Regions from separate parts of the Homo sapiens genome. Here regions 1, 2, 3, 5 and 6 are each linked to region 4. Evidence: promoter capture Hi-C in human tissues and cell types (Jung and others, 2019). All regions are on one chromosome and are shown on one strand. The core of a region is centred on a gene start or on the middle of the fragment in contact, and the rest is flanking DNA. Distances in the headings are between cores, read along the strand shown. Region 1 overlaps PLCB1 (phospholipase C beta 1). Region 2 holds the start of LOC124904868 (a long non-coding RNA gene). Region 3 overlaps PLCB1 (phospholipase C beta 1). Region 4 holds the start of PLCB1 (phospholipase C beta 1). Region 5 overlaps PLCB1 (phospholipase C beta 1). Region 6 overlaps PLCB1 (phospholipase C beta 1).

The links. The method cuts DNA at HindIII sites, captures the fragments that hold promoters and counts their contacts. A contact is called where the count stands out against the background at its distance.
Region 1: a fragment that was not itself captured here is called in contact with the fragment with the promoter of PLCB1 in region 4 in 4 of the 25 tissues and cell types used here (hippocampus, lymphoblastoid cells, mesenchymal stem cells and 1 more).
Region 2: a contact is called between a fragment that was not itself captured here and the fragment with the promoter of PLCB1 in region 4, in 1 of the 25 tissues and cell types used here (liver).
Region 3: a fragment that was not itself captured here is called in contact with the fragment with the promoter of PLCB1 in region 4 in 5 of the 25 tissues and cell types used here (bladder, dorsolateral prefrontal cortex, lymphoblastoid cells and 2 more).
Region 5: a fragment that was not itself captured here is called in contact with the fragment with the promoter of PLCB1 in region 4 in 6 of the 25 tissues and cell types used here (adrenal gland, dorsolateral prefrontal cortex, heart left ventricle and 3 more).
Region 6: a contact is called between a fragment that was not itself captured here and the fragment with the promoter of PLCB1 in region 4, in 5 of the 25 tissues and cell types used here (dorsolateral prefrontal cortex, heart left ventricle, mesenchymal stem cells and 2 more).

What each region holds. Positions count from the first base shown.
Region 1 is chr20:8,553,184-8,558,349 of GRCh38, reverse strand. All of the region lies in intron 3 of PLCB1 (phospholipase C beta 1), which reads right to left. Among named protein-coding and RNA genes, the nearest start is that of RNU105B, 280 kb to the left of the region's middle. The HindIII fragment of the contact is 5,772 bases long and covers 776-5,166 here.
Region 2 is chr20:8,590,622-8,595,540 of GRCh38, reverse strand. All of the region lies in intron 3 of PLCB1 (phospholipase C beta 1), which reads right to left. It overlaps LOC124904868 (a long non-coding RNA gene), which reads left to right and starts at 870. Exons shown (of 2, transcript XR_007067522.1): 1 at 870-1,035; 2 at 4,748-4,919. The HindIII fragment of the contact is 5,443 bases long and covers 297-4,919 here.
Region 3 is chr20:8,512,570-8,517,470 of GRCh38, reverse strand. The region is part of intron 3 of PLCB1 (phospholipase C beta 1); the gene reads right to left. Among named protein-coding and RNA genes, the nearest start is that of PLCB1-IT1, 270 kb to the right of the region's middle. The HindIII fragment of the contact is 4,959 bases long and covers 352-4,901 here.
Region 4 is chr20:8,130,014-8,134,434 of GRCh38, reverse strand. PLCB1 (phospholipase C beta 1) reads right to left here and starts at 2,169. Exons shown (of 32, transcript NM_015192.4): 1 at 1,685-2,169. The coding sequence starts at 1,783. RefSeq lists a silencer at 1,944-2,083. The HindIII fragment of the contact is 4,653 bases long and covers 176-4,421 here.
Region 5 is chr20:8,415,658-8,420,455 of GRCh38, reverse strand. All of the region lies in intron 3 of PLCB1 (phospholipase C beta 1), which reads right to left. All of the region lies in intron 1 of LOC124900459 (a long non-coding RNA gene), which reads right to left. Among named protein-coding and RNA genes, the nearest start is that of PLCB1-IT1, 170 kb to the right of the region's middle. The HindIII fragment of the contact is 3,341 bases long and covers 512-3,852 here.
Region 6 is chr20:8,618,993-8,623,668 of GRCh38, reverse strand. The region is part of intron 3 of PLCB1 (phospholipase C beta 1); the gene reads right to left. Among named protein-coding and RNA genes, the nearest start is that of RNU105B, 210 kb to the left of the region's middle. The HindIII fragment of the contact is 7,376 bases long and covers 1-4,676 here.

The DNA of each region.
Region 1 (5,166 bases), core at 2,412-4,911, 420 kb before region 4:
GTTGATTCATTTATATTTATTTATTTAATTCTTTATTTTGTGGATACATAGTAGGTGTATATATTTATGTATTATATGAGATATTTTGATACAGGCATGCAATGCATAATAATCACATCAAGGTAAATGGGATATTTATCATCTCAATAATTTATCCTTTGGCTTCAAACAATCCAATGATATGCTTTTAGCTATTTTAAAATGTGTAATTAAATTATTTTTGACTATAATCACCCTCTTGTGCTAACATATACTAGATCTTATTCATTTTTCCTATGTTTTTGTACTCATTAAGCCTCACTACTTCCCCCTCCACCTCCCTACCCATTATCCTTCCCAGGCTCTGGTAATCACCCGTTTTGTAAGAGTTGATTTAAAGTCTTAGTTAGTAGATCCAATATCTGTGCTTTTTCAAGGAGAGTTGTTCATTTTTTTCCTGTGAGTGGGATACTCTTTTGTTTCTTCTCATGACTCATAATTTTTTGTTGAGAACAAGACATTTTGAATATTATTATGTGGTAACTCCAGAAACCAGATTCTTGCCACTGCTTGGGGTTTATTTTTGCTGCTTGCTGTGGGTTGGAGTTGTTTCTTTCTTTAGTGACTTTTCTAAACTATTTTTTATTGTGATAAAATATAGATAGCCCAACTTTACTGTTTTAGTCATTTTGTGTACAGTTGAGTGACATTAACTAAATTCAAAATGTTGTGTTGTGCAATCATCACCAACCACCATCCATCTTCAGAACTTTTTAATATCTTCCAAAGCTGAAACTCTGTACTCACTAAACAATAACTACTTATACTTCTCTCTGATGATCCCCTGGCAACTGCCACTCTGCCTCTATAAATTTGACTCCTCTAGTTATCTCATACGAGTGGAATCATACAAATATCTGTCCTTTTGTTTCTGGCATATTTCACTTAGCATGTCTTCAAGATTTATCCATGTTCTAACATGTGTCAGAATTTCTTTATTTTTGAAGGCTGAATCATATTCCATTGTAAGTATATACCACATTTTGTTTATCTATTTCTCCACTGATGGATATTTGGGTTGTTTTCACCTTTTGTCTATTGTGAATAATGCTGCTATGAATATGAGTGTACAAATGCCTGTTTCAGTCCCTGATTTTAATTGTCTGAGATATATACCCGGAAGTGAACTTGCTGAATTATATGGTAACTCTATGTTTATTTTTGAAAAAATACAATACCATTTTCTACAGTGGCTGCACCATTTCCTATCATCACTAGGAACATACATGGGTTACAGTTTCCCTCATCTTCACCAACACTTGTTTTATTTCCATTTTTATTATTTTTTTTATTTATTTTATTTATTTATTTATTTATTTATTTATTTTATTTATTTATTATCAATAATAGCTATCCAAATGGTGTCAAGTGGTATCTCATTGTGGTTTTGATTCACATTTCCTGAGGGATTACTGATGTTATGCATCTTTTCATGTGTTTATTTCCATTTAAATATCTCTTTGGATAAATGTCTATTCAAACACTTTGCTCATTTTTCCGGACTATTTTTAAAGGCTATATATTTTGTTGTATGGACTCTGAAGTCTCTATTTTGTTAGCTTGTGGTTAGCTAGTGGTTTGGCAGATTTCCCTAAATGCCTAGAGCAAACACACACACACACACACACACACACACACACACACACACACACACCCAACCCTCTCCTAGCCTGGCTGTTTACAACTCTGCCTTAGCCTTCATTTCCTGCTGTTGTGAAGCCTTAAGATCTCAAGCTGAAGGTGAAAGCTTAGTGTCTTCTCAAATCTTTTGAGCATAGGTCCTATCCTGGGCATATGCATCACTTTTTAGGTTTTCTATTATAAGGAATCTTTTTCAAAGCAATTATTCTCTAAAGTAACTCATTCTCCAGCTTTTCCTTCCAGTATTTAGGGTTGTCTATTGTTTATAACAACTATCATCTTTTGCCCTAAGTGGCAGAGGCTTGTTCATTTACCTTTCTATGTTTTGGAGGAATGTCCTCTACATGGCTGCTTTTCTGCCCTAAGAGAGTTCCAAGTTAGGTAAAACGAAGGCAAGTACTTTTAGGGACTCTTCAGGTCAAAACAGACAAACACAATTCTTTGGTAATAAGGTCTGCTCTGCTCCTTCCAGAATCAGGTACCCATAGAGAGAATGTGGCCGCCATCTTTCCTACTGCTGCCATGCTGAGGAGGGTGTTAGCCAGGATGGGAAATATATATAAATTCTAAGACTAACTTAGATGTTTTGATTATTACTGGATAAATCTTTGGTCAAGCAAAGATGGGCTTCCCAACACATCAACAGACATTCAGAGTCACTTATTAAATTTCACTTCATTAAAAAAAATCATTTCTGACTAAGTGTCTCTTTCATGTAATTTGTCAAGTCTAAAACGATTTTAAAATTTGTCTCAAAATGATATGCTTACATTTTGTGGAATAGAAAAAATTGATTCCATCTTTATTGATAAGAATTTTCTAAGTTGTCAATGACTGATTATTTGGGGCAGACATGGAAATTATAGTCTATTCTCCTCCAAGTCAAGCAATTTTCAGATGTTTTGATGAAGCCCTGACAAACAAATAGCTCCTGTAATATTTATGATAAGAGCACATGCCATATTCTACTCTGACATACACAGTTGGCTTTACCTTATCATTAACACAAAATATTTCCACTTGATTTTAATTTGTCACATTTGAATGTAACACTTAATAAGAGAGGTAGATATTTATAGGAAATACATGGAGATAGATGACCTTTCCAGGGAAGACTTAAGACCAAACAGGAAGTAGAAAGTGTGTTTTCAGAAGTGCTTAAATCATAACAATCGAAGCCCCATCCCATGTTGAGTGAGGTGCAGCATTTCAGGTAGTGGTGGATGGCCTCAGTCTATGAGTTTGTGTTTTCTTCTTGCTTCTGAATTGTATGATATGATGGAGGAAGAGGAGTGTAGGTGGAGAGTGTGTATCTACTTTTTGTTAGAAACACCTCTTTCACTTCAAAGCTCCTATCATTGACTTAGTATCATGATCCATTGCCTACCTTGCCTTTTGAAACCCATTCAACCCTATTAAGGATACAGAGTTAAGAATATGAGGGTTGGTGGTGAAGTCAGCAAAAACAGCAGAGTAGGGAGCCCCAAGGGCCCATTTCTCCACGAAAACACTGATAAAACCAGCAAAAATTATCAAACTCAACTCTGTCAGAACTCTGAAAAATAGACAAAGGCTTAAGGCAACCAAGCAAATGCCAAGTCAAGAAAAAAGTGACTAACATGATAGGAGAGATTTGTGACATTTTAACTTAAGATTCCCTTCCTCCCAAAAAAATCTTTATTTTATTTTATTTTATTTTTAAGTTTCTAACATGAAGGGAGAATCTTCAGTTTTTTGGAGCATTTTCTTAAATGCAAAAGTACACGTCCCAGTAATTTCACACAAATAAGATTTTGTCATACACTGAATTTGAATTTAGCTCCTGAGTTAACGTAGAACAGCAACAGGTGATACTAATATTATTAAGCAAGAACTCAGAAGCTGGGCAATTTTTTTATGTTAACAGCATTTTATTGAGGTATAATTTATATACAAATAATGCAAATCATAAACATATGGATCAATGCAATTTGGCAAGTGTATATGACCATGCAATCATCATCCAGGCTAAGGTATAATACACTTCCTCTCTCTGGAATGTTCTCCTTTCCAATCAGTCCTCTTGTACTCTACAATCAGCTACTATTCTGGTTTCTATCACTGCAGAATATTTCCTTGTCTTTAAACTTAATATAAATGGAAGTGTAGAGTATGGTCCATTTTGTGTCTCTTCAGCTCTCTTCAAAAACACTATAATTTTGAGATTCATCACTAGACTGAATGCATTAGCAATTCATTTTTATTTATAGCTGAGTAGTATTCCATTATGTGATTATACCGCAATGTGTTTATTCATTTACCAGTTGGTGGAAATTTGGGTTGTTTCCAGTTTGGGGTTTTTATGAATAAAGGGGCTATAAGCATTCTTTTACAAGTTGTTATATGGATATATGTTTCATCTCTTTTGGGTAAATACCTAGGAATGGAATTGTTAGGCCATAGGAGAGGTAAGTACATATTTAACTTTATTAGAAACTGCCAGAGAGTTTTCCAAAGTAGTTGTACCATTTTATATCACCCCTGTATGAGAGTTTCAGCTATTCTACAATCTTGCCAACACCTGGCCTTACTACTGTTTTTTTTTTTTCCTTAATTTTAGCAATTTTAGTGAATGTATAGTGGTGTAATGACTTTTGTGGAGTTAAACAGCAGTTTTGCTGTTGTTTTTGAGATGGAGTCTTGCTCTGTTGCCCAGGCTGGAGAACAGTAGTGCAATCTCGGCTCACTGCAACCTCTGCTTGCTAGGTTCAAATGATTATTCTGCCTCAGCCTCCCAAGTAGCTGGGACTACAGGCATGTACCACCATGCCCAGCTAATTGTTTTGATTTTTAGTAGAGACAGGGTTTCACCACGTTGGCTAGGATGGTCTTGAACCCCTGATTTCAAGTGATCCACCCGCCTCAGCCTCCCAAAGTGCTAGGATTACAGGAATGTGCCAGCGTGACAAGCTAAACAGCAGTTTTATTAAGGCTCCTAATGATAATGTTTTTCTGTATTCATTTGCTTGAATTTTCCTTTACTTGATTTTTCAGTCTTAAAAGTTTCCACACCTCAAATGCTGTCAGCAGTTACAGATAAGAATAAAAGATTTAAAAATAACTTTCACTGTGTATGTGTACAAATACGAGCAACAGGAACATACAAGAAAAGTTGTATGCTTACATAATAAGAATCTATTTTTAAAAAATAAAGAGCTCTTCCAAAACTGAGAAGTTGGTGTATTTTAAAACAAGATTTCTGGGCACCAAATGCTCACTTTATTTCAAGAAACGATTCCACCTTGAACTTGGAGCTGTGTTGATATCATTTACTGACACTTGCTGACTGAAATCTTTGGCACTCCACTAAAACTTCAATAGCAAATCTAAATAGTGAGAAACTGTATCTATATCCTGCCTTGCAATAGCAGAAACCAAAAGGAACCCTGAAATTGCCTTTTCACACTTGCAAGAGTGTGCCTTTTGAATTTTATGATTATTGTGTCA
Region 2 (4,919 bases), core at 1,769-4,268, 460 kb before region 4:
CACAATAGCAAAGACTTGGAACCAACCCAAATGTCCAACAATGATAGACTGGATTAAGAAAATGTGGCACATATACACCATGGAATACTATGCAGCCATAAAAAATGATGAGTTCATGTCCTTTGTAGGGACATGGATGAAATTGGAAATCATCATTCTCAGTAAACTATCGCAAGAACAAAAAACCAAACACCGCATATTCTCGCTCATAGGTGGGAATTGAACAATGAGATCACATGGACACAGGAAGCGGAATATCACACTCTGGGGACTGTTGTGGGGTGGGGGGAGGGGGGAGGGATAGCACTGGGAGATATACCTAATGCTAGATGACAAGTTAGTGGGTGCAGCGTACCAGCATGGCACATGTATACATATGTAACTAACCTGCACAATGTGCACATGTACCCTAAAACTTAAAGTATAATAAAAAAATAAATAAATATTTTGTATAGACATATTAATTGCCTTTAAATATTCTATGTCTTTGTATTACACCTAAGATGCATATGTTATGTAGTCTATATATACTTTTGAATGAAAATTCACAGATGCATCTTTAAAAAGGCACCTCGGTGTTAGAATATGGGATGCAAAATTTAAAAACAATTCAAAAGTTTGTAAAATGATTTATTCCTTTAAGAAATGCCTTTTTAAACACCTAATTTGGGTAAGGAACTCTGTTATCTAAGAATGAATTAGAGATGTGCTTAGTGTCTAATGGAGACAAGGTACACTTGGTTAAATATTTTCTTTCTAAAAGAGGTGATTTATCTGCTGTGCTATTTATAAAATGCACTTAAAGCACTGAGTTCATATTGATGTCATTGTCTTAAAAGTGCTTTTTTTTTTTTGGTTTCCTCAAAGATATACTAAGGAGCTTTTGCAAGTCAATGTGCAAAAAGACACTACAATGAGTGGAGAATCAACAGTGCTCTCAGAACTTTGCTCTCAGAAAACTTAAGTTACCAGGCACTAAGTGGCTACTCAAAATGTGGTTTGTGGACCAGAAGCATCACATCTCCTGGGAACTAGGTAGGGATGCAGAATCTCAGGACCGCCCCTAACCTACTTCATCAGGTTCTGCATTTTAACCAGATCCCCAATGACTTGCAAGCACATGAGTGTTTGAGAAGCCCTGATTGAAGGCAATGTATTGTAGCGTGGTGGAGTAGCCCAGGAACACCATGGACCAAACTTAAAAATCCTATTGCTAAGTCCCATTCCAGACAGAATTTTCAGGAGGGCAACAAGTTTCTCAAGAGAGTTTTATTTTCGGTCGAGTTTAGAATACATCAAACAGAAGCTATAAACTGATGTCCTAAAATAACATGGATCTGGGCTAGGCATGAGGGTTCATGCCTGTAGTCCTAGCACTTCGGGAGGTTGAGGTGGAGGATTGCTTGAGGCCAGAAGTATTGCTTGAGGCAGGGTGTTCAAGACCAGCGTGGGCAATATAGCAAGACCCTGTCTATAACAAAAAATTAAATTAACTGGGAATGGTGGTGCACAGCTCTACTCTCAGCTACTTAGGAGGCTGAGGGTGGAGGATCACTTGAGCCCAGGAGGTTGAGGCTGCAGTGAGCTATGTTTGTACCACTGCATTCTAGCCTGGGTAACAGAGCAAGATTCTGCCTCTAAAATAAAATAAAATAACACAGATTTGGGCTTAAATGTCAGGGCTGTGTCTTTGCAGAAAGTAAGCCTCAGTTTCCTCCTGATAATAGAATCTTCCCCGAAAAAATGTCACAAAACATGCAAGGCAAAGTCCATAAAATTCCTGGTATATAAAATGATACATTCTTAGTTATCAAAATTAGTATTGCAAAATTACTATCACTGTTACTTATAAAGACACCTCCCTCACCCCATTAAAAAAATAAAAATAAAAAATCTAATAAAAACAAAAGTAAAATGCCAATAACAGTAATGTTTATTTTCAGTAGAAACAATGTCAGATTATCATTGGTATTATACTAAGGACTTCAAAAATTTATAATTTTCATTTTGTGGGCAAAAATGTAACTGGGAATAAAAGCCTACATGGGGCTGGGTGTGGTGGCTCACACTTGTAATCCCAGCACTTTGAGAGACTAAGTCAGGAGAATTGCTTGAAGCCAGGAGTTGAAGGCCAGCCTGGGAAACAGAGCAAGACCCTGTCTTCACACATACACACACACACACACACGCGCACACACAAATTAGATGGGCATGGTGGCTTGTGCAGGTAGTCCTGGCTACTTGGGAGACTGAAGCAGAAGGATCGCTTGAACCTGGGAGGTTGAGGCTGCAGTGAGCCATGATCTTGCCACTGCAGTCCAGCCTGGGTGACGGAGCAAGACTCTGTCTCTTAAAAACTAAGTATGCGTGTAAGATATGGGGGGCAGGGCCTGTGAGTGAGAGAGTTGGGGCAAAAGATGGGGAAAGGCCTGGGCTATACTACTTACTCAGCAGGCAAAAATATCTGGGCTTGGAATCAGATGAATCTAGGCTCAACCCTGGCTGTGTGATAGAAAATCCTGGAAGCTTTAAAAAATGAGGGGCCTGGATCCCACCCTCAGAGATTCTGATTAACTGGACTGGGTGCAGCCTGGGTTTCCGGAATCTCATGAGCTGCTCAGGGGGCCCTAATGTGCAGCCAGCATTGAGAATGGCCACTGCAGGGCCTTCCCTGCAGCATCACTGTGATGTTTAAATCAGATAATATATGGTGGGCATTTAACATAGAGTCTTGGCCCTCAGTGTAACTGCTAGATTAAAAACAGAAATACAAATTGAGCATCCTGAATCCAAAACTCCAAAATCTGAATGCTTCAAAATCTGAAACTTTTTGAGTGATGATGTGATGCCACAGTGGAAAATTCCACTCCTGATCACATGTGACGAGTCACCGTCAAAATGCAGGTGCACAACACACAGTTTATTCGGCTTCTCCAAGGGGAAAAAAAGACCCTCTCAGGCCCCTTCAGTTGCAATATATATTTTCTGCCCTTATCCAGACTCCCTCCTGTAAGCATTGCCCAGAACAATTAATAAAATGGCACGTATGCTGGCCAGAAATGCCAACAATAGGTTCCCCATGATGTCCCACATGAAGCCAAGACCTGCATGCATTACTTTTTGCTTATTCTCTGCTCTGTAAAGATATTGTTGAAAATGTCAAAAAGGCCTACAGATACCTCTATGGGTAATAGTGATAAAATACAAGTAATCTGGTGATGCTACTTTGCTGCTTAGTTATCCTGAACACATTATTTTTTTTACTGTATTAATGGTTTGTCAATTTTTTTACTAGGTACTTAGGTGTGAATAAGTGTAAGAAGATGATTGCTCATCAGTAACATATAAATTCAGAGACAGGGATGATAGTGGTCAAAGATTGGCCACATGGGCTTGAGATAGTGTAGTGACACATTTGCTTTCTGATTGTTTAATGTACAAAACCTTTATTTCATGCACAAAACTATTTAAAATAGTGTATAAAATTACCTTCAGGCTACATGTATAAGGTGTATATGGAACATAAGTGAATTTCTTGTTTGGGCTTGGGTTCCATCCTCCGAGATATCTCACGATGTATATGCAAGTATTCCAAAACCTGAAAACATTTGAAATTCAAAACACTTCTGGTCCTGAGCATTTCAGATATGGGATACCCAAGCTGTACCGGTTATTGTTACTGTAATATTTGGGATGGCCAGCAAGTTACATGTAATGAAATATGTTTCTCAGTCACCCCCCAAAATATACAAAGAGCTATGTATAATACTGATATCTGTCCCTGGAAGGTATACAATCTGAAGCAAAGACAGGGGAAAAAAGTGCTTAACAACAAATGCTTCTCAGGTGGAAATTCCCACGTGGCCCCTACAGTGCAAAGCATATCAATTGCAAGTCTCAAAAAATAACGTCTCTTAAGTGCCCTGGGTGTGAATACAGTTTACTGACACCTTTGCTCCGTACCCACAGCTGGACATTCTACTTGGGCAAGCACTGAATTTATACTGAATTTAAATTGTACCATAGGAAGTCAGTTTTCCTTTACCTTAGCTTCTAAATTGGAATCTTACCAAACTGAGTTAGATGAAAAATAAAGCTCTTTGATTCTTTATGTTCTTTAGTGTTGCAGGACACACAGAAGTTTTTTTGGCTTCTTTTGCTTATTATCTACTTTGTGCTTATTATCTACTTTGTCTCCCTGGTGATTAAGTAAACCCATGTGGTAGGCAGAATAATGGCTCCCCAAAGTTGTCTATGTCTTAATCCTGGAAACCTGTGGATGTGTTAGGTTACATGGCAAGTGAGTATTAAGGTTGAAGATGAAATTAAGCATGCTAGCAGCTGATCTTATACACCATGGAATACTATGCAGCCATAAAAAGGAACAAGATCATGTCCTTTGCAGGGACATGGATGGAGCTGGAAGCCATTATCCTCAGCAAACTAACGCAGGAACAGAAAACCAAACGCCTCATGTTCTCGCTTATAAGTGGGAGCTGAACAATGAGAACACATGGACACAGGGAGGGGAACAACACACTGGGGCCTGTTGGAAGGTCGGGGAGGGGGAGGGAGAACATTAGGAAACATAGCTAATGCATGCTGGGCTTAATACCTAGGTGATGGGTTGATAGGTGCAGCAAATGACCATGGCACATGTTTACCTATGTAACAAACCTGCACGTCCTGCACATGGACCCCAGAACTTAAAAAAAAAATTAAAGTAGGATTATTCTGGATTATCCAGGTAGGCCTAATGGAATCAAGAGGGCCCTTTAGAGTGGAAGAGGGAATTTGAAGAAAGAACCAGAGACATGTCAGCATGAGAAGGACTCAGCCTAATCTTGCTGCCTTTGAAGTTGGAGGAAGGGGTCTATGAAGCTGGAAAAGGTGAGGAAACAGATTTTCCCCCAGGGCCT
Region 3 (4,901 bases), core at 1,582-4,081, 380 kb before region 4:
CCACCACTGGCCTCTCTCCCCTGTATGTGAGCCTTAATAAAACCCCATGTCTCATTTGTTGCCTCTGGGTCTCTTCTTTGGCTTCTTGAATCTTGTGCCTTCCTTATTGGGGTTAATAAGGGTTCAGCACAACACCCAGCAATTTCAAATGTAGACGACGCCTCTCAGAGCAACTACTGTTGTTTCATATCTTTCTATGTTCCAATAAATTCTGTTTTGTTCCTGCATCTTGAGTTGGCTCTAGGCTCACCATGCAGGCCCCCTCAGTGTCTAGCTCTTTAGGTTGTGGGATGTCTGGAAGGGGATATCAGACACAAACACTTCTATGCCATTACTTGTGGGCTCCCCGAATGCAGCCCAATGTCATCTCTATATGTGGAACGCCCAACCCCTCTATTGTGGTGAATTTTTTCTGATCCTTCAAGAGTCAGCTCTAGCACCCACTCTGCTGTCCAGTGGTTAAACTCACTCCTTGTGAAATCTGGCATACACCCAGTACACAGGACCTACCACCTCATATTGAGCATCTTACTTATTTGTCTGTAAACACTCTAAGAACTGTAAAGCCTGGAACTGTGTTGTACTTAGCTGCACAGCCGTAACAAAGGGCACATAGGAAATCTTTGATGGATGGTTTTCTTGTTGAGTGAATACCCTTTTCACCTTGACCATGACTCAACTATATCTATCTTGCCGAAAACTTTAGTCAAAAACTCTTACAGGTGACTGACTAGTAGTATATAGCATCAAAATGGAATACATATATATATATATATATATATATATATATATATATATATATATATGATGTTATATTTTCTATAAAAACCTTAGATTCTAAAAGAAACCATGCAATTCCAATGTTTGTAATTTGGCTAAATAAGACTGTGGCTATTTAGCATGTTATGAAAATAAACTCAGAGACTTTCAACATTATTGTACTTACATGTATAAAAGGGAAACTATCTCTGATAGAGTAGGTTGTTGTTCTGAAATGATCACTCATTTCTGTTCACTTCCATAGGAGATGACACTTCTCTGCTCCATTTATGTTGATCTTGGCCATGTGACTTGCTTTGGCCTCATTGTGGGCAAAATTAACACAAGTTGAGCTTAACTATGTAACTGGCTTTGGCCAGAGTAATATTATCAGAAGCAATGAAGCGGAGGCTTGAAATGTGCTGTCATGGTTGAATGTGTTCTCATGTGCTTGGGTCACTGCCAGGAGGACCTGGGCTCAGAGGGGACATGTGAGATGATGATACGGTTTGGCTGTGTCCCAGACCAAGTCTTTCTAGAATTGTAGCTCCCATAATTCCCACGTGTTGTGGGAGGGGCTTGATGGGAAGTAACTGAATCAGGGGGGAGGGTCTTTCCTGTGCCATTTTCATGTTAGTGAACAAGTCTCACAAGAGCTGATGGTTTTACAATGGGAAGTTCCCCTCCTTACGCCCCCTTGCCTGTTGCCATGTAAGATGTGACTTTGCTCTTCCTTTGCCTTCTGCCATGAGTGTGAGGCCTCCCCAGCCATGTAGAATCCATTAAACCTTTTTCCTTTATAAATTACCCATTCTTGGGTATGTCTTTATTAGCAGCATGAGAACAGACTAATAAAGACACTGTGTAACAGAGCCACCTTAACTAACCTGCCCAGCTGAGCCAAATCTAGATAAGCACTCCCAGCTGTCCCAAATGCAATGATAGACAGTTTTTAGCTGAAGCCACTATGCTTTGGGGTGTTTGTTATGCATTGATGTTAAATGTGCACATTTCTTATATGAACTTTTCTTTATATTGTGCCTCCCTCAAAGCCATGCACAACCAGACAATAAATTATTTCTGATCAAGGCACTAAACAAGGAAATGACCCAGATTGTGGGAAGTAGAGATTGGGAAGGAGGTTCTAATTAGCTGCTCTCTGAGCTAGGAATACAAATTTCTAGATACACCAGGCATCAGTTTGAATAATTGTATGGGATATAGGAAAGCAGCCTCATAGAAAAGCCTGCATACACTAACACACGCTCACAGCATCTATGTGATAGGAGGAAAGCTTCAGGAAAGGTAAATGATTAGGGTGGAAATTTTTAATAATTGTATGCAACCTGAGTATATTTAGAGCCATAATTATAAATGTAATTTACTGTAATGGTGTCTTCATGCTAACAACTATTAGTTTAATAAAACTGCTGTTATAATGAAGCAGATGCTATTACTGAAACAGCTCTATAATTGAAGGGCTATTATAGCCAGTTTAGAACAGAAACAGTAAATAAGTGGTAGTGGGAAGCTCTTCCTCCAGGGCTGAATATATTGAAAATTCAGACACTTTCCATACAGCAATACTTTGTGCCTTGATTTTAACATTTTACCTTCTATGTTTTTGTTTGTTCCTTTGTTTTTGTTTTTTGTCTTCCTGTCATAAGCTAATCAATGTTAGTGGGCCCAAGTCCACTTTAATCTAAGACCTTATTACTCAAAGAGTAGTGTGTAGGCCAGTAGCATTACTATCACCTGGGTACTTATTGGAAACTCAGAATCTTAGCCTAACCCCTGAACTCCTGGAGATGAATATTAGTTTTAACAAAATCCTCAGGTGATTTGTATGACTATTAAAGTTTCAGAAGCATTGGTCTTAGATATTCACTTGGAAAAATTACTTTACATGAACCAAAAATAATAATATAAGAATATTCACCCATACATACATACAAGATATATCATGAAACTAGCAAAAAGATACTGTTTTTGTTTTAACTTTTAGCCACAATTTTCTTTGTTAGGGTAGAAAAAGTACTAAAAGAGAAATGAAACGGCTTTACTCTATGGGGCACAGTATTGTTTAGGGATTGGGTTTCTTGCTTTATTACGGTAGATAATCTGTTTTCTTCTCAGCCTCTGAGTAGCTGGGACTACAGGTGCACACCACCATGCCTTGCTAATTTTTTTTTGTATTTTTCTGTAGAGATGGAGTTTTGCCATGTTGCCCAGGCTGGTTTCTTTTTTCCTTTTTTTTTTTTTTTTTGGAGATGGAGTCTCGCTCTGTTGCCCAGCGCAGGCTGGAGTGTAGTGGCCTAATCTCAGCTCACTACAACCTCCGCCTCCCAGGTTCAAGTGATTCCACTGCCTCAGCCTCCCGAGTAGCTGGGACTACAGGCTCACGCCACCACGCCTGGCTAATTTTTCTATTTTTAGTAGAGACAGGGTTTCGCCGTGTTGCCCAGGTTGGTCTCGAACTCCTGAGCTCAGGCAATCTGCCCACCTCGGCCTACCAAAAGTGCTAGAATTACAGGCGTGAGCCACCATGCCCGGCCCACCCAGGCTGGTTTCAAACTCCTGGGATCAAGCAATCTGCCCACTCTGGCCTCCCTAAGTGTGTAATTACATCTTTTTTCTTCTTAATGACAGGTTTAAAATACTTTTTCTTCTTCTTCTTTTTTGATTTTTTTGAGACAGGGACTGTGTTGTCCAGGCTGGAATGGGGTGGCATGATCTTGGCTCACTGCAGCCTCAACCTGCTGGGGCAAGCCATCTTCCCACCTTAGCCTCCTGGTAGCTGGGACTACAGGCACACACCACCATGCCCAGCTAATTTTTTGTTGTTATTTTTAACTTTTTTTTTAATAGAGACAGAGGTCTTACTATTTTGCCCAGGCTGGTCTTGAACTCCTGAGCTCAAGCGATCTTTCTGCCTTGGCCTCCCAAAGTGCTGGGATTACAAGCATGAGCCACTGCACCTGACCACTTTTGTTTCTTTTAGTTCTGGTAGCGTTTTATCATTTCACTGAAAGCATGTTTGTCCTATCCTCATGCAGTAGATTTTAGAAAACACTACCATATTTCAGTGATATCTCATAGCAACTGGCAGGGGGGACAGAATTCTTACAATACTTCAATGGGGATGTTTCTCTCTTGGCTTCAGCACCTGCAGTATAGGTATTCGTTCCGAATTATCCAATATATTCTAGCACACTTCGTGCATTTAATTGAATATAATTGTTTATACTGTAAAAATAATGTAATTTGTCTTATTGCAACTTTACCATGAAAACAGTGTTCACTGTGTCGTGTTGTCACTTCATAGATTGCTTTTGCTGTGTGTGAATGAATGAGTGTGTGTGTGCCCTTCATTACTGCATAACACATGTACATCCAGGGGCTCTAATACTGACTGCATAGCTTAGTGAATTTCTTCACATCTATATCCCTGTGTGGCCTCCACAAAGATTAAAGAATATGTCCAACACTACTGAAAGTTTCTTGTCTCTTGTCTTTGATCAACTTTGCTTGTTCTTGAACTTTATAAAAAATGGAATCACACAGTACTTGTTTGTGTCTAGATTTATGTATTGAAACCTTTGGTTTAAACATTTTAAAAAAATGAAGCCATTATACTAAGTAAAATAAGCCAGGCACAGAAGGACAAATATTACATGATCTCATTTATATGTGGAATCTAAAAATTCGAACTCGTAGAGGTAGGAAGTAGAATGGTAGCTACCAGACGTTGGGAGAGGGTGGGAGGTAAAAGGGGAGATGATGGTCAAAGGGTACAAAGTTTCCATTAGACAAGAGGAATAATTCCTGGTGATCCATTAAACATTAGGTGACTAGAGTTAATAATAACGTATAGTTCAAAATTGCTAAGAGAATGAATTTGAAATGTTTGTACCACAAAGAAATGATAAGTACGTGAGGTAATGGATATATTAGTCGGATTTACTCCTTCCACAATGTATACATGTATCAAATTGCTCCCCATATTGTACATTGGGGTACAATTTGTATTATGAGGGTACAGATTGTACCCAATGTACAATATGGGGTAAAATTTGATATATGTATACATTGCACCCCATAAATGCACCCCATAAATGTATATAATTATTATTTATCAATTA
Region 4 (4,421 bases), core at 920-3,419:
TTATTTAAAATACAGTTTAGAATCATCACTGTATACAAATCCAGAGCTTACGCTGAAACTCCCTTTTCTAAATTCTGCAAAGTCTCTTTCTCTTTCCTCTGCCCTTCACTCTCTTTCTCAGTAAATCCATCATCACATCACCTCTCTATTCAAGGATCTCAAAATGGGCAAGACCGTCTTGTTTATTGCTGAACTGCATTTTCTTTGTCTTTTTTTTCCCTGACACAAAGCATTTAATCTGCGTCTGAATTTATTGTTTAGATTCTATTCCATTTACAGAAACATTCAGTACAATTAGACTGGAACAGAAAGAAGAAAAGTGTGAAGCCCATGGTAAAAAGATGTATGTTTACATCCTTGCCTACAGCATTTAATAATTGGCACGAGCTTTCAAGGAAGCTGTGGTTCATACTCCAAGTTCCGTTTGCGCTTCCAGCTGGACAAAATATAGACACAGACGCACTCAGCTAAGTAATTGGATTCACTACCTGGAATATTTAAATTGTTTTCAGACACTGGAAAATGGCTTAAGAAGATTAAAGAAAAATACCCTAGAGGATAACAGGCTATAATTTACTAGGTGGAAAATCTTTTCGGCAAGAAGAACGCCTCATTCTCCTATAATTCCTTCTGATTAAGAGATGTATTAGTCATTTGGACTTAAATTTGCTTAGAGCCTGGCAACTCGGGTTTATTTCAGTAGGTTTTTCTTATCGAACCTTTAGAATGACACCCAGGACATAAAACTGATACCATAATGTTCTCCATCCGAAGATTCGCATGTTTTCAGCTGGATAACTAATTTACGTGTTTTGAAGACAACTGGGGTAGAGGGGAAGGGGAAGTCATTTGAAGTCCTGGGGTCTGGGCCGCTCGTAAAGCATTAGAGACCCCGGCGCTGGGCTAGGCTCTGCCCTACCTGGCAAACGGTGCAGGTAAATCGTGGGGCAAACTCTCAACCTGTCTATTTCAGGCAGAAGACTCCAATCAGCTCAGTTCTCAAAAGTCAGCCCTCCCCACTTGCCTGCAGGCCCATGAGCCCTCCAGGACCCCTCAAGGGCCCCCATTCTGTTCACGCCCTCCCCAGATGTGTCCCCGCAGCCCTTTTCAGGGACCCTCACTCCGGAGCCAGGCGCTGAAGTTTGGCATCAACGACCACCTGTTGGCTGGACCGTTGTGTCCTCCGCCGCCTTGGCTCCCACAAAAGCGCCAAGAGGGTTCGCAATCACTAAAGTGTTTTGAACTTCAGGTCCTTCCTTCTTGAAATCGGGCAAAAGAGGTAATAGGGGGTGCGTCCGCAGGCGGAGAGGGACGCGATTTGTTCACACCAGGCGCTTTCCAGTTGGTCCCAACTTCACACTCCCTACTTTCCGAACTCTCAGGACCTGTCACCAGGCAAAGCTTGCCCCTCCCTCTCCACTGGCCCAAAAGATGTAAGACCCTCAGGGGGCGCCTGCCAGACCCAGAAAGGATGGCAACTACTGAAGCCCGATGAAACAGGAGCGCGCGCAAAGCTTCTGCCCTTGGACATCCGCTTTGGCAGATGCCAACCTGTGCGCCCGAGGCTGCCCCTGCCCGCTCCCAGTGCGCCCATTGCATAACGCGCCCCTTGCCCCACCCCCACGACGCCCGCCCTGCCCGGTGCCCGAGCCAGCGCCCCGACTCGGGCCGCCCCAATACTTACATCATCCCACTTGACGAATTTGGTGCCCTTCTTGAGGCTGTCGGACACGCACACGGGCTTGAGTTGCAAGGCGTGCACTCCGGGTTGAGCCCCGGCCATCTGGGCTCATCTGGGCTCCGGGCGGCCCGGGCGAGCGCGGCAGGGACTGGGGACCGTGCGCGGGGCGCGGGGCGCGGGGCGCGGGCTCCTTTCTCTGCTCCGGAGGCGCTCGACTCTGCTCCCCGCCGGCCTCCCCGGCCTCCCGGCCTCCGCACCTCCCTCCGGCGCCGCTCAGCAGGCAGAGCGCGCGGGGGCGCAGCGCCCGGCCATGCCCCGGGCGGGACGCGAGGTCTGGAGCCCGCGGTGGATGAGGAGCCTCGGAAGGCGAAGAGAAGCCGAGCCGGTCAGCCGAGGCTGCCAGTCGCGGCGGATTCTGCTCCTCCGCCGCCGCCGCCTCAAAGCGCACCATTCAGCACATCCTCTATACACAGAGGGAGAGAGCGAGTGACACACGCCCGGCGCCCCCCCTAACCGCTCTTTTCCCTCCTCCCTCCTCCTCCCCCCCGCCCCCCTTCCCCGCCACCCTCGCTCGCTGGGTCCTTCCTTCCCCCCGCGGCTCCCAGCCCAACTTTGCACGCTGGGTCAGGCGCCAGGAAGCGGGGACGCAGCGGCACCTCCTGGCTCCCGAGCCCCATTGCAGCCAACGCCTGCCTCCCGCATTCGCTCTGAGCATGCCCCGTGCCCTGGTTGCAGAGGTGCTAGGGGTCCCCAGGAGCCTTACGCTCTTTGGGGTTTTCTTGGGAATTTGGGCTCGAGCTCCGGAGCGTCTTTGGATCCCAACTGGCTGGGAAAAGGGGCCCATCGGGAGGAACCAAAGAGGCAACCCCTGGCTTTTGGCTCTAGCTGGAGCTCTCCAGCGCCAGCCACAAACCAGCTTTTTGAAGAGAATTATCATTTATCAGCAGAGAAGAGCGCAGTTGAGAGGCTCTTTGAGGAAACCTGGCCGCGCCTGAGAGTTTGCAGCGCGCTGATCTTGAAACCCGGGCAAACGGTTACGTTGTGCTTTCGAGACAGAAAGCCCATCCTAAAGAAAGCAAAGGTTTTATTTTCCGAGGAAGAAAGAGGGTGCCCTCTCCCGCTCCTCTCCTTGAGTGTGTAGGATGTGTGGCGGGTGGGGGAGAGTCTTATTAATAGAAACTTGCTCATTTAGGAACATAGGTCCAGGAATGTTTGTCTTCACTCCTTCCACAAACATTTCTCAATTCAAGAAAGAAAGGGAGGGAGGGAGGGAAGAAGGGAAAGAGGAGGACCAGAATGGATAAAATTTTAAAGACTGGTAATACCAAATGCTTGAAAGGATGTGGAGCAACTGGAACTCTTTTTTTTTTTTTATTAAGGAGAGAGAGGAGAGGGAGAGAGAGAGTGAGTGAGTGTGAGAGAGAGAAAGAGAGAGAGAGAGAGACACACGCGGGAGGTGGGGGGGCGGAGAGAGAAATAGCTTGGAACTCTTGTTCATTGCTGGAGGGAATATAAAATAGTAAAACCACTTTGGAGAATAGTTTCTTATAAAGTAAGATATTTACTTATCATACAACCTAGAAATTCCACTCCTAAGTATTTGTCCAAAAGAAATGAAAACGTTCAAGTCTGCAGGGACTTGTAAAGTGATGTGAAGAACTTTCTTCTTAGTAGCCTGCAAATGTCAATCAACAGGTGAATGGATAAACAAACTGTGGTATGCCCAAATATTGGAATACTATTCCACAATAAAAATGAGTGGGCATGCAAGATCAGGGATGAATCGCGACTTTAAGCTTTGTAAAAGAAGCCGGACACGATAGACTGTATGCTGCCTGATTCCATGTGTAGGAATTGCAGAATAGGCAAGATATTCTATGTTGACAGAAAGCTTGCCTGTGGCCAGGGATAGGTAGAGATGGACAGGGAAGGGCTACGAGCACCTGATGAGCATGTCGGAAATGTTCTATATCGTGTGTGTGTTTATCAAAACTTGTAAGTTCTGTAAGTACGCCTAAATTGAGTGCAGTTTGTTTTAAATAAATTATATCTCAAAAAGGTTGATTTTTAAAAAGAAGAAAGAATACGAAGAGAGAAAAATGGAGAGAAACACTACATTCTCTTAATCCTTCATTCTCCCTGTTCTCTGCCCTCAGGACTCCAAGGCCCAATGCTTATGAACTCAGTCAAAAGATTACCAAAATCCAATACAGAAATTTGCTATTAAATATTTCAATGCATTTAAAATATACTTATTGGTAGCCAGCTGTATACTAGCCACTATTGTAATCACCATGGATAACCTGGTGAACAAGACCCATGACTCTTGCTGTCATTTGAGGGTCTTGCCTTGTGCTTGGAAGCCAATTGCTACAAAGAATTTCATGAAAAACTGACTGGTTTCATTTTGATCACATGTCCCTAAACTAAAACCTGAATGGTCCACAGTCCCTCTAGCCAGCAGCCTTGGCTTGCTAATTACCTCACAGAAGGTATCAGTCACCGTCTCAAGTCGATTTTCTCTACTTCAGAGTACTGCAATGAAACTCTGCTTCCAGGGCTCCAGAACTTCTCAATTGTCCTTACAACTGATCATACCAAATTGTTTTCCTTTCCTTTCCTTTCCTTTCCTTTCCTCCTTTCCTTTCCTTTCTTTTCCTTTTCTCCTTCTATCTCTTTGTTATTTACTGGAAAGATTATTGGCCAAATAGTTTTTACCTGTCACAGTGGCTTAGGAAGG
Region 5 (4,798 bases), core at 933-3,432, 290 kb before region 4:
GTCACCATCATGCAACACATCCATGTAACAAACCTGTACACGTACCCCTTGAATCCAAGAATTTTAAAAAATATATGTATTTATAGTTTCAAATAATCCTGAATAAGCCCAGTGGTTCACTGAATATTTAAAAATGACAAATCTGAGTTCTGCCTCTTGCAAGGATAGTAGGTAGGAGCAGTTTGCTAGATGTGAGAAAGTGGCTAGCTGACTTCCTAGCATCTTGGTCTTATCTCCACCTGATTGTCTCATCTAGATCATTTTGGGAGCTTCTCTCATTTTCATTACAATTCATAGGGCAGGAATTATTACTCAGATTTTACAGGTAAGGAAATTAAGGGCTTTCTCTGTTGTAAAAGTTATAATATGTATTGGAAGTATCCTCACAGCTATCAAGAATCAGCTCCATTAATCAGAATTGCTGCTGTGACCTTAATGAATAATGGAACTTAGGCATATTTCTAATAGGCAAATCCCCTTGTAATAATTTCAGATACAAACTGCTGCTGCTATAGATATTTGAGGACTAAAATCAAGGACAGTCACAAACCCACCACAACATTAAGTCTAGTATAGTTATCTTAAAAAAATTCAAACTTTATAAGAAGATTGGATGTATAAACATTTAAGTTACAAACAAAGTATGCTTTTGAACAGCTGGTTCCATTTCCTGCCATTGCCTCCATGTAAAATCACTATAATAAAAATGCTTCTCTACTTATGTTGGGGCTATGTTCCGATAAACCCATTGTAAGTTGAAAATATTATAAATCAAAATGCATTTATTATACCTAATCTTCTGAGCATCGTATCTTAGTCTGGCCCACCTTAAACATGCTCAGAACACTTACATTAGCCTACAGTTGGGGAGAATTATCTAACACAAAGCCTATTTTATAGTGAAATGTGAATATCTCTCGCAACTTATTGAATACTGTGCTGAAAGTGAAAAGTAGAATCATTGTATGGGTATTTGAAATACAGTTTTTATTGAATGTGTTTCACTTTCCAGCCACTGTAAAATTAAAAAAAATCATAACACAAACCATTGTAAATTCTGGAACCATATATAATCATTAACATTTTTGGATGCTGTTTATTGGTCTGTCCTCGGCTAGTGGCTAAAGACACATTTCTGAAAATATAAGCAGAGTCAGTAAAAAGACTATTCCCATAACAAATGTAAATCCCCTATAAAAGTATTATAAAAGCTGTTAAGCACTCTACAAAGTTCAGAGTCACATGTTTAATTTTCTACACCAAAGACAAGTAAACTTCCATTTTTAACAAATTAAGTAAACAAAGCTTTTAAATCCAGACATCTTATAAACAATCATTACTTACTAACATCAGTGTCAATATTTTAATTTAACATCTTTAATTTTCCACATGATCAGGAACGCTTACATGATCATTAGCTGCAATAATGATGTGAAAATTACATTAATGAGCTTTGGTGAAAACATCCAGGAAATATTTTATATAGACTGAGTTTTAAAAATGGTTCTCTTGGGACTGTAAGAAACCTCAGCTGTTGCCCTCTCCCCTCTGTGTAGGCAGACAATGAAATGGGGTATCAGAAGCATTGGAGAAGAGGGATCATTTCACCCAGTAGAACCAATCTTACTCTAGGATAGTTGGGTTAGAGTCAACAAAGTCATCTGTGTGTTTCAGCCAACCCATGCCTCTAGAGTTTAGTGCTTTAAGAAAATTAGACTACCATTAAATAAGTCCATAAATTCATGGACAAAGGAATTATCCTCATATAAATGTAAATATTTTGATTTTTTATTACAATATAATTTTTCAAAACCCAAATGATCATCTCTGAAAAAATACATAAAATACATAAAAATATATAAGTAATTTATATTAAATGAATAATTTGATAAAGAATAAGAAGGAAAGCTTTTAGAAGGTACTCCATCAGTAGATAAGGGACTGCCATTTTACTCACAACAAATTTCGATAAAATAAAAATTTATGTATAATTGTATATTCATTTCCTAGGCCTGTTTAGGACAAATCTGCATGTTCTGAAGATATTCAAGCACAGAACACATCGCCCAGTGAGTGATGGTGGAGGTGGCCTGAAGGTTGGGCTGGTGCTAGGATTGAATGCAGCTGACACATGATCAGGGAGGCAGAGCCACTTAGAGTGACACAGAATCGGGGATTTTCAGAGCAATTCACTCTTACAAAACTGAGGGAACTGTTGAAGTCCACTGAAGATTGTTGCTGTTGCATCTACTTTTGGGACTTAACTGAACTGTAAATCAAGGTTGGCAGTTGGGAAAGAAAGCTGGACACAAAATGAGAGAGAGGGAGGACAAACTAGACCCTAACTCTGACTTTTACTACTTCCCACCTCAGCAATTCAGTTGGCCCACAGAAGATGCTGGTGATCTTCACCAGGGAACTGTCCTCAAGCCTTGGACTTTTAGAAGTTGAAGGAGGAAATCCAGCCAGAGGTAAAGGACTGCAGACAGCTGCCCTGTGCTAGCCAGGTGACCCAAGATCAGCAACATCCTGTGTGTAACACTTAGGAGTCCTCTTGTTTTCCCACAGATGGGACTGTAGGCTCATTTCAGTTTGCAAGAGGACATCCTGCTAGACTGAATTATTATTCACAAGTACAAGATGGACATTTGGTATCCAAGATGGTATTTGACGATTTTCTCTCTAAAGATTCTCTGCTCAGACATTCTGTCTCCTTACAAAGTACATGGGAGTCCATTGAGAACAGGAATAAAATAGCAAGTCAATTGGAGAATCTGATTAGAATTAGATTGTATATCATTTCATGGGCACTTTTATTATGACATGGCTCTGAAGTGTAGTCATTTGTTTGCCTGTATCTTGAGCTCCCCTAAAAGAGAGAACATGTTCTATTCAACATTGTAGTTGTAGTACAAGGCACTCGACCAATGCAAATATATGAATTTGCATGAATTCACTGATAGTAAATCAATGACACTGTTTTTACCTAGAACTAAAAAAAAAAAACCCTGAATTATTGGTACAACAGAGTCCTAGTGCTAAGATCAAATTTGATTTGTTATATACATATATATGTGTGTGTTATAAATGTGGGTGCGTATGTTATATATGTGTGTGTATACATAATATATACACACACCAGAGACAAAAAATATATAAGTGTATCATGGTGAAACCCTGTCTCCACTAAAAATACAAAAAATTAGCTGGGCATGGTGGTGGGCGCCTGTAGTCCCAGCTACTCAGGAGGCTGAAGCAGAAGAATGGCGTGAACCTGGGAGGCGGAGCTTGTGGTGAGCCGAGATTGCGCCACTGCACTCCAGCCTGGGCGACAGAGTGAGACTCCATCTCAAAAAAAAAAAAAAAAAAAAAAAAAAAAAAATATATATATATATATATATGTGTGTGTGTGTGTGTGTGTGTGTGTGTATACACATATATGTATTTAAAACTACATATATATGTGTTTACAGCTGAAGCGACTCTGTGTGTGTGTGTGTGTGTGTGTGTGTGTGTGTGTGTGTGTATTCTGTCTCTTCAACTGTAAAAGAGACACCATCAAGGACTATTTCCCAAAAGCACTATGCGTAGCATTCACATTCTTCCCTGCCATTTGCAACTATATCTTCTCTAATTTGCCAAGTACTCTTCAGTCAGGCTACCAGGATGATGCTCAGCTCTGTTTGCTTCATTTTCCTGAAAGAGTCTCTAAACAAAACCCTCACATTTCAAAACTTGGCTCAAATCCTTCCATCTCCAAGCAGGTCATTACTATACATGTTAAATCCCATGCTCTGTCTCACACATACCTCCTCCTCAATATCTACAGAATCTTTTACAAGCCCTACTCCTGTGACTGTACATAAACCATGCTCCCTTGCAAACTTACTTTTCCTGTTTAGGGGAATATATATTACCTTCCAAAGGGACAGTAAATTACTTAATGTTAGTGAGCATACCTTTGCACCCCCCGCAGCTAGTGTGACACATCTCTTTGATTTTCAAGGACAGCCTTCAGAATTTTGTTTTATTTAGAAATGACAATTTGATCATATGTAACTAAATCTAATTCAATGTAATATTTTTACATTAAAAAGACTTTTTCTATAAATAATTAGTCTTCTCTCCATCCAGAACTCACTGTGCTATGTATATACATAAGTTATTTTACATCACGCTTCAGATAATCATAAATAAATGCATACAAAGATCAGAAAAATCTCCCTTGTCAGACCAAGTTTTCTCATTATTTTGTTTCTAAAAAATATCATTCAAGTAGTCACAATACCTTGAATTTAGAAGTAACTCAACACACATGAGTCAAACAGAATTTCAAACAAATCACACCTGTGTTTTGGAGATTCCTTAACCTACAGGCTATTTTTAGTGTTCCCTAGGGGAGAGACAGAGTGAAAGAGCAAGTTTCAGAAAAAAGAAAGAAATATATAAACATTGATGAGGAAAGCTGCAGAAGAATACTGGCATGAGAGCAGGGAATAACCTCTGGGATCACTAAGTCCAAAGCCTCCTTTACACCCTGTGGCCAAGAGCAACAACCTACCTAAGGCAAACTGACCACTAGCAGACTTTTACCAGATTCATGGTGTTGCCCTGGATCTTGGTTTTCATTCCCCAGCAGACATTGATATTTTTCTGCCCCACATGAAGGGTAGGATCCCATTACATAAGCAATTCCTATTATGGTGTACAAGACCCTGTTGGTGTCCTACACCATGTCCACCATCTAAGGTGACTCCTGCAGCTTAGGTGCACAGTTCCCACACATGCTGATGTCTTC
Region 6 (4,676 bases), core at 2,008-4,507, 490 kb before region 4:
AATATTTTTTAGCTATTTTTTTTTAACTAGAGGGAGTAGAAGGAGAACAGACTGACTATGTCAAAGAAAAGCAACTATGGGTACATACTAGGAAAAAAACGAGCTGGTAGAGGACTGCCCTTTCATATCCCGCAGTGGCATTACCATAACAAGAGTATTCATATTTGTTTTGGGATGGAATAATGATGAATTTATAAAGTCACTGTATAAGTATAGAAAACTGTTGATGAAGAAGAGAAAATATAATTAGCTTAGCCATGCATCTTCATCTGAAATAAAGCGGTTTGAAGCTGTCAGGCTTGAATTGATTGAGCTAAAGTGAACACACTATTTAAGTCTAAAACAAAAAAAAATTAGAAGAAACACGAAGGCGATCATCCAGATAATATTCTCCTGGTTCACAAACAGAGAAGCTAAAAGTTCCCTGGAGTTCCCATGGAGCTAAAAGTTTGGTTGTTCTTGGAAGCAGTCAGAGAGAAGAGATAAATAAAGTTAAAGGAGCATCCCTAAATAGCATCCTAGATTTTCCTCATCTCCAGGAACAAGCTCAGGGTCTGGTTTAATGCAGTTTCGAGAGCTAGGAAGGAAGGAAAGATAAGGGGCTGCTGGAGGGCATTCAGGCAGGCTGACCATAGAAGAAGCAGAAAATGGGATTGAAATAAAGTATCCACAGTCCTTGGACCAAGAAAATTGGGCTCAGAATGTGGAGAGACAGCTTCAGAGCTGGGAAAATGCTGCTATTACCTATTTCAAAAAGTTGCATTGCCTGAGCTATTAGGTTGGTGCAAAAGTAATGGCAAAACCCCAATTACTTTTGCACCAATCTAATAGTTTCCCAGGTTGCAATACACATGCTTGGCAGACAGGATCTTTGTCTGGATGCCCCAGAAGCTGACCCAATCAAAGATCTGAGGACAAGTAATTTATTTTGGAGATGATTGCAGAAAGCACAGTGAGGAGTGGGGAAGTAAGACAAGGAGGGAAGAAGGTCTTTAAAGACTGTGTTAATTTAGCGGTTTACCATTTTGGGCAACTGAGGCTCAAAACACTAGTGCCATTTGGAGACAGAATGAAGAACACATCTTAGGATGTCCCTAAGTAGCCTGGAAACTGCAGCATTTATCTGTTCAGTCTCATCCATCACTGGTGGACAGTCATTCCTGGTGTGCTCTCTTGCATTTCCATAGCCGGAAAACATTCTTAGGACTATATGGGAACTCTCTTTAGGTAACCTCTGTGAGTGAGCCAATAGAATATCAATGGATTGAATACACCTGTTACAACATTAAAGAAGTGATTATAGGAAATAAGGAAATGTTATCTCAATATTGATTAATCTTCATGTATTCTATGGGATCTATAATTGAAAGAATTTCATCAGATAGGCTACTAAGATTCTTTTTTTTTTTTTTTCCTGAGGCAGAGTCTTGCTCTGTCACCAGGCTGGAATGCAGTGGCGTGATCTTGGCTCACTGCAACCTCTTCCTCCCTGGTTCAAGCGATTCTCCTGCCTCAGCCTCCCGAGTAGCTGGGACTACAGGCACGCGCCACCAACCACCCCCTAAATTTGTATTTTGAGTAGAGACGGTTTCACCATGTTGGCTAGGGTGGTCTCCATCTCTTGACCTCGTGATCCGCCTGCCTCGGCCTCCCAAAGTGCTGACTCTGTTCAGTTCTCTATAAAAATGATACATATAACAACAAGTTCTTCTAATTAGTGACTGTGTCAACTACCACACCAGCTGTTCTGTATCTTCTTCCACCTATTTAATCTGCAAACTAACACAGAGAAATAGCTATTGTTATTCCAATTTCACATGAGGTGCTGAAAGATGAAGTAATTTGCTCAGTTTTATAAAATGGTGTAAAGGGAGATTTGAATCCAAGTACACCTGATGGTAAACTCTAAGCCCTCTCCATATCACACCGTGTTACAAAGTATATCCAATTTGATGCAGTTTATATAAAATAGTGCAAATAGTTCAATTGGCAGAATAAAACTTAAATAGCACTCATTCAAGTTACCTTGTTTAGCGATATTTTAGGCAGTTTGTTAAAAATATAAAATAATGCATATGAGAAATCAAAATAGGAAAGAAAGGTGGTCTCATGGAAGTGCTTGCCTTCCTAGCAAAGAGTCGAAGCTAAATGGTCAATTTTAATCATTATTTGTACAATCATCCTTGCTGAAAATAAAAGTGCATGAACTATAGCAATTTGAAAACTAGTCAATGGAAAAAGTAGTTAGCTTTTTCCTCCTCATTGAGTCAGTATTTGTCAAACTTAAAAATTCTAAAGTATAGACAACTTTTCAGCCATGTTTTAAACTATCCCCCCAGTCTTTTTGACATATGCTACCACCTGTCTGCCAGCAAAATTTGTATGCACAGCCCTTACCACTGCAATGCATAAAAAATCCACATGCCCTGAGGGGTAATGGTGTGTGCAAAGCAGACAATTAGGATCCTATGTGCCTTCCTGTTTAAACCCCCGACAAAGCATGAAAAGCATTATATTCCCCTCAACTTTCATCCAAGGTCAATGCTTCTAGCTATCATAATGACGCCTGTTTGTTAATAGAATGCACAGACACTTTTACAATGAGTCCGCAGCATCTCCCTAGTTGATGAGTTCTTTATTGGTGAGATTTAAGTTTTCCTATTTTGTAATGATATCTACTTCCTTCCATGGTACTGTGCTATAGTTAGATGTGTCAAAGGGGCTTCTAAAACCTCAGAGCATAATTTAAAATCAAACATATCAAAAAAGGAGGATGACAATTTATTAATAATGACAAACACGATGTTCCCTTTGTTAAGAAAATCCATCATCTATGCTGTGAGCTTTTGACACATGGAGGAAAACAGCAGACAGCCTGTATTCTGTTTCTTTTCTTTTCTTTTTTTTTTTTTTTTTTTTTTGGTGGGGGCAGGGGACAGAGTTTCTCTGTCACCCAGGCTGGAGTGCAGTGGTGCAATCTGAGTTCACTGCAGCCTCTACCTCCTGGGCTCATGCGATTCTTAGGCCTCAGCCCCCAAATAGCTGGGACCACAGGTGCACACCACCAGACCTGGCTAATTTTTGTATTTTTAGTAGAGTTGAGTTTTTGCTATGTTGGCCAGGCTGGTCTCAAACTCCTGGCCTCAAGTGATCTGTCCATCTCTGCCTCCCAGAATGCTAGGATTGCAAGTGTGAGCCACCGTGCCCAGCCAGACAGCCTGCATTCTGTCTGGCTTTGAGTTCCGGCTCTGTCGTTTGAAGAAATGTGAACTTAAAAAATTTTGTTAATCATTCTGTGCCTCAGTTTTCCAAACTGTGGGATGAGGATAATAGTAGTGTCCCCTTAAAAAGGTTATTATGGGAAATAAATGAATCATTATATGTTAAGGGCTGAGAGCCGCACATAACAAGTTGTGAGTACTTGAAAAAAAATTAATAGCTGGTAGTATACTTAAAATAAGTAATCAATCATGTCAGTCACCACAAAAATATATTAATTCTTTATGTACATGTGACACATTAGAGTTTGCAGATTTGATTTTGATCACCACACTAATGCTGTAAGGTGACCAGGCATTGCTATTATCATCCACCTTGAGGGAAAACTAAGTTGAAGCTCAGGGAATACAAGTTGCCTAATTTTCAAAGCTAGTTAAATGGAAGAACCAGACACTGAAAAGTTCTACAAATGAAAATGAAACACAATATGGGGGGAACATACTGAATACTTTAATCTCTTATAGAGACAAGAACATTTTAGTATATGTATGTATATCCATTTACTTACTTTGAGATTTGTCGATCAGTATGTATATTTGTGTGCACATTTAGGAATATATTCATGGTTTGTGTATACTTGACTACCTATATTCTAAACATTTGCACTTTAATTTTGTTTTTCCCTTAATTCATTTTTCCATGGGAAGCTTAATTTAAAGAGTGCTAAAGGACAAGTCATTTCTAGATCTTTTCAGTTCCTGGTTCTTCCATTTAACTAGCTTTGTAAATTAGGCAACTCATATTCTCAAAGCTTTAACAATGATAATAGCAATGTCTGTTCACCTTATATCATTAGTGTGGTGATCAAAATTAAATCCTCAAACTCTAATGTATCACATGTACATAAAGAATTAATACATTTTTGTGGAGTCTGACATGATTACTTATTTTAAGAATGCTATGAAAAAATGCAGTGAAATAAATGTTAGCTTATACTTATCTTTTTCTTTTTTTCTTTTTTTTTTTCTTTTTAGACAGAGTCTTGCTCTGTCGCCCAGGCTGGAGTGCCGTGGTGCAATCTTGGCTCACTGCAACCTCCGCCTCCCGGATTCAAGCAATTCTCCTGCCTCAGCCTCCTGAGTAGCTGGGATTACAGGCACATGCCACCACGCCCGGCTAATTTTTGTATTTTTAGTAGAGACGGGGTTTCACCATGTTGGTCAGGCTGGTCTCAAACTCCTGACCTCATGATCCATCTGCCTCAGCTTCCCAGGCATGAGCCACCGCACCCGGCCTCTTTTTCTTCTTAAAATTATAAATGATTGTAGGAGTTAAAAGGAGCGAGAAAATTTCCCACCAGTTCACTACAGGTAACTGAAGGAGTTTGAAGTAAATGGGTAATTTATCTATAAAGCTAAATATAGATGTGAATACGTATTTGCTGAAAGTTATAAAAA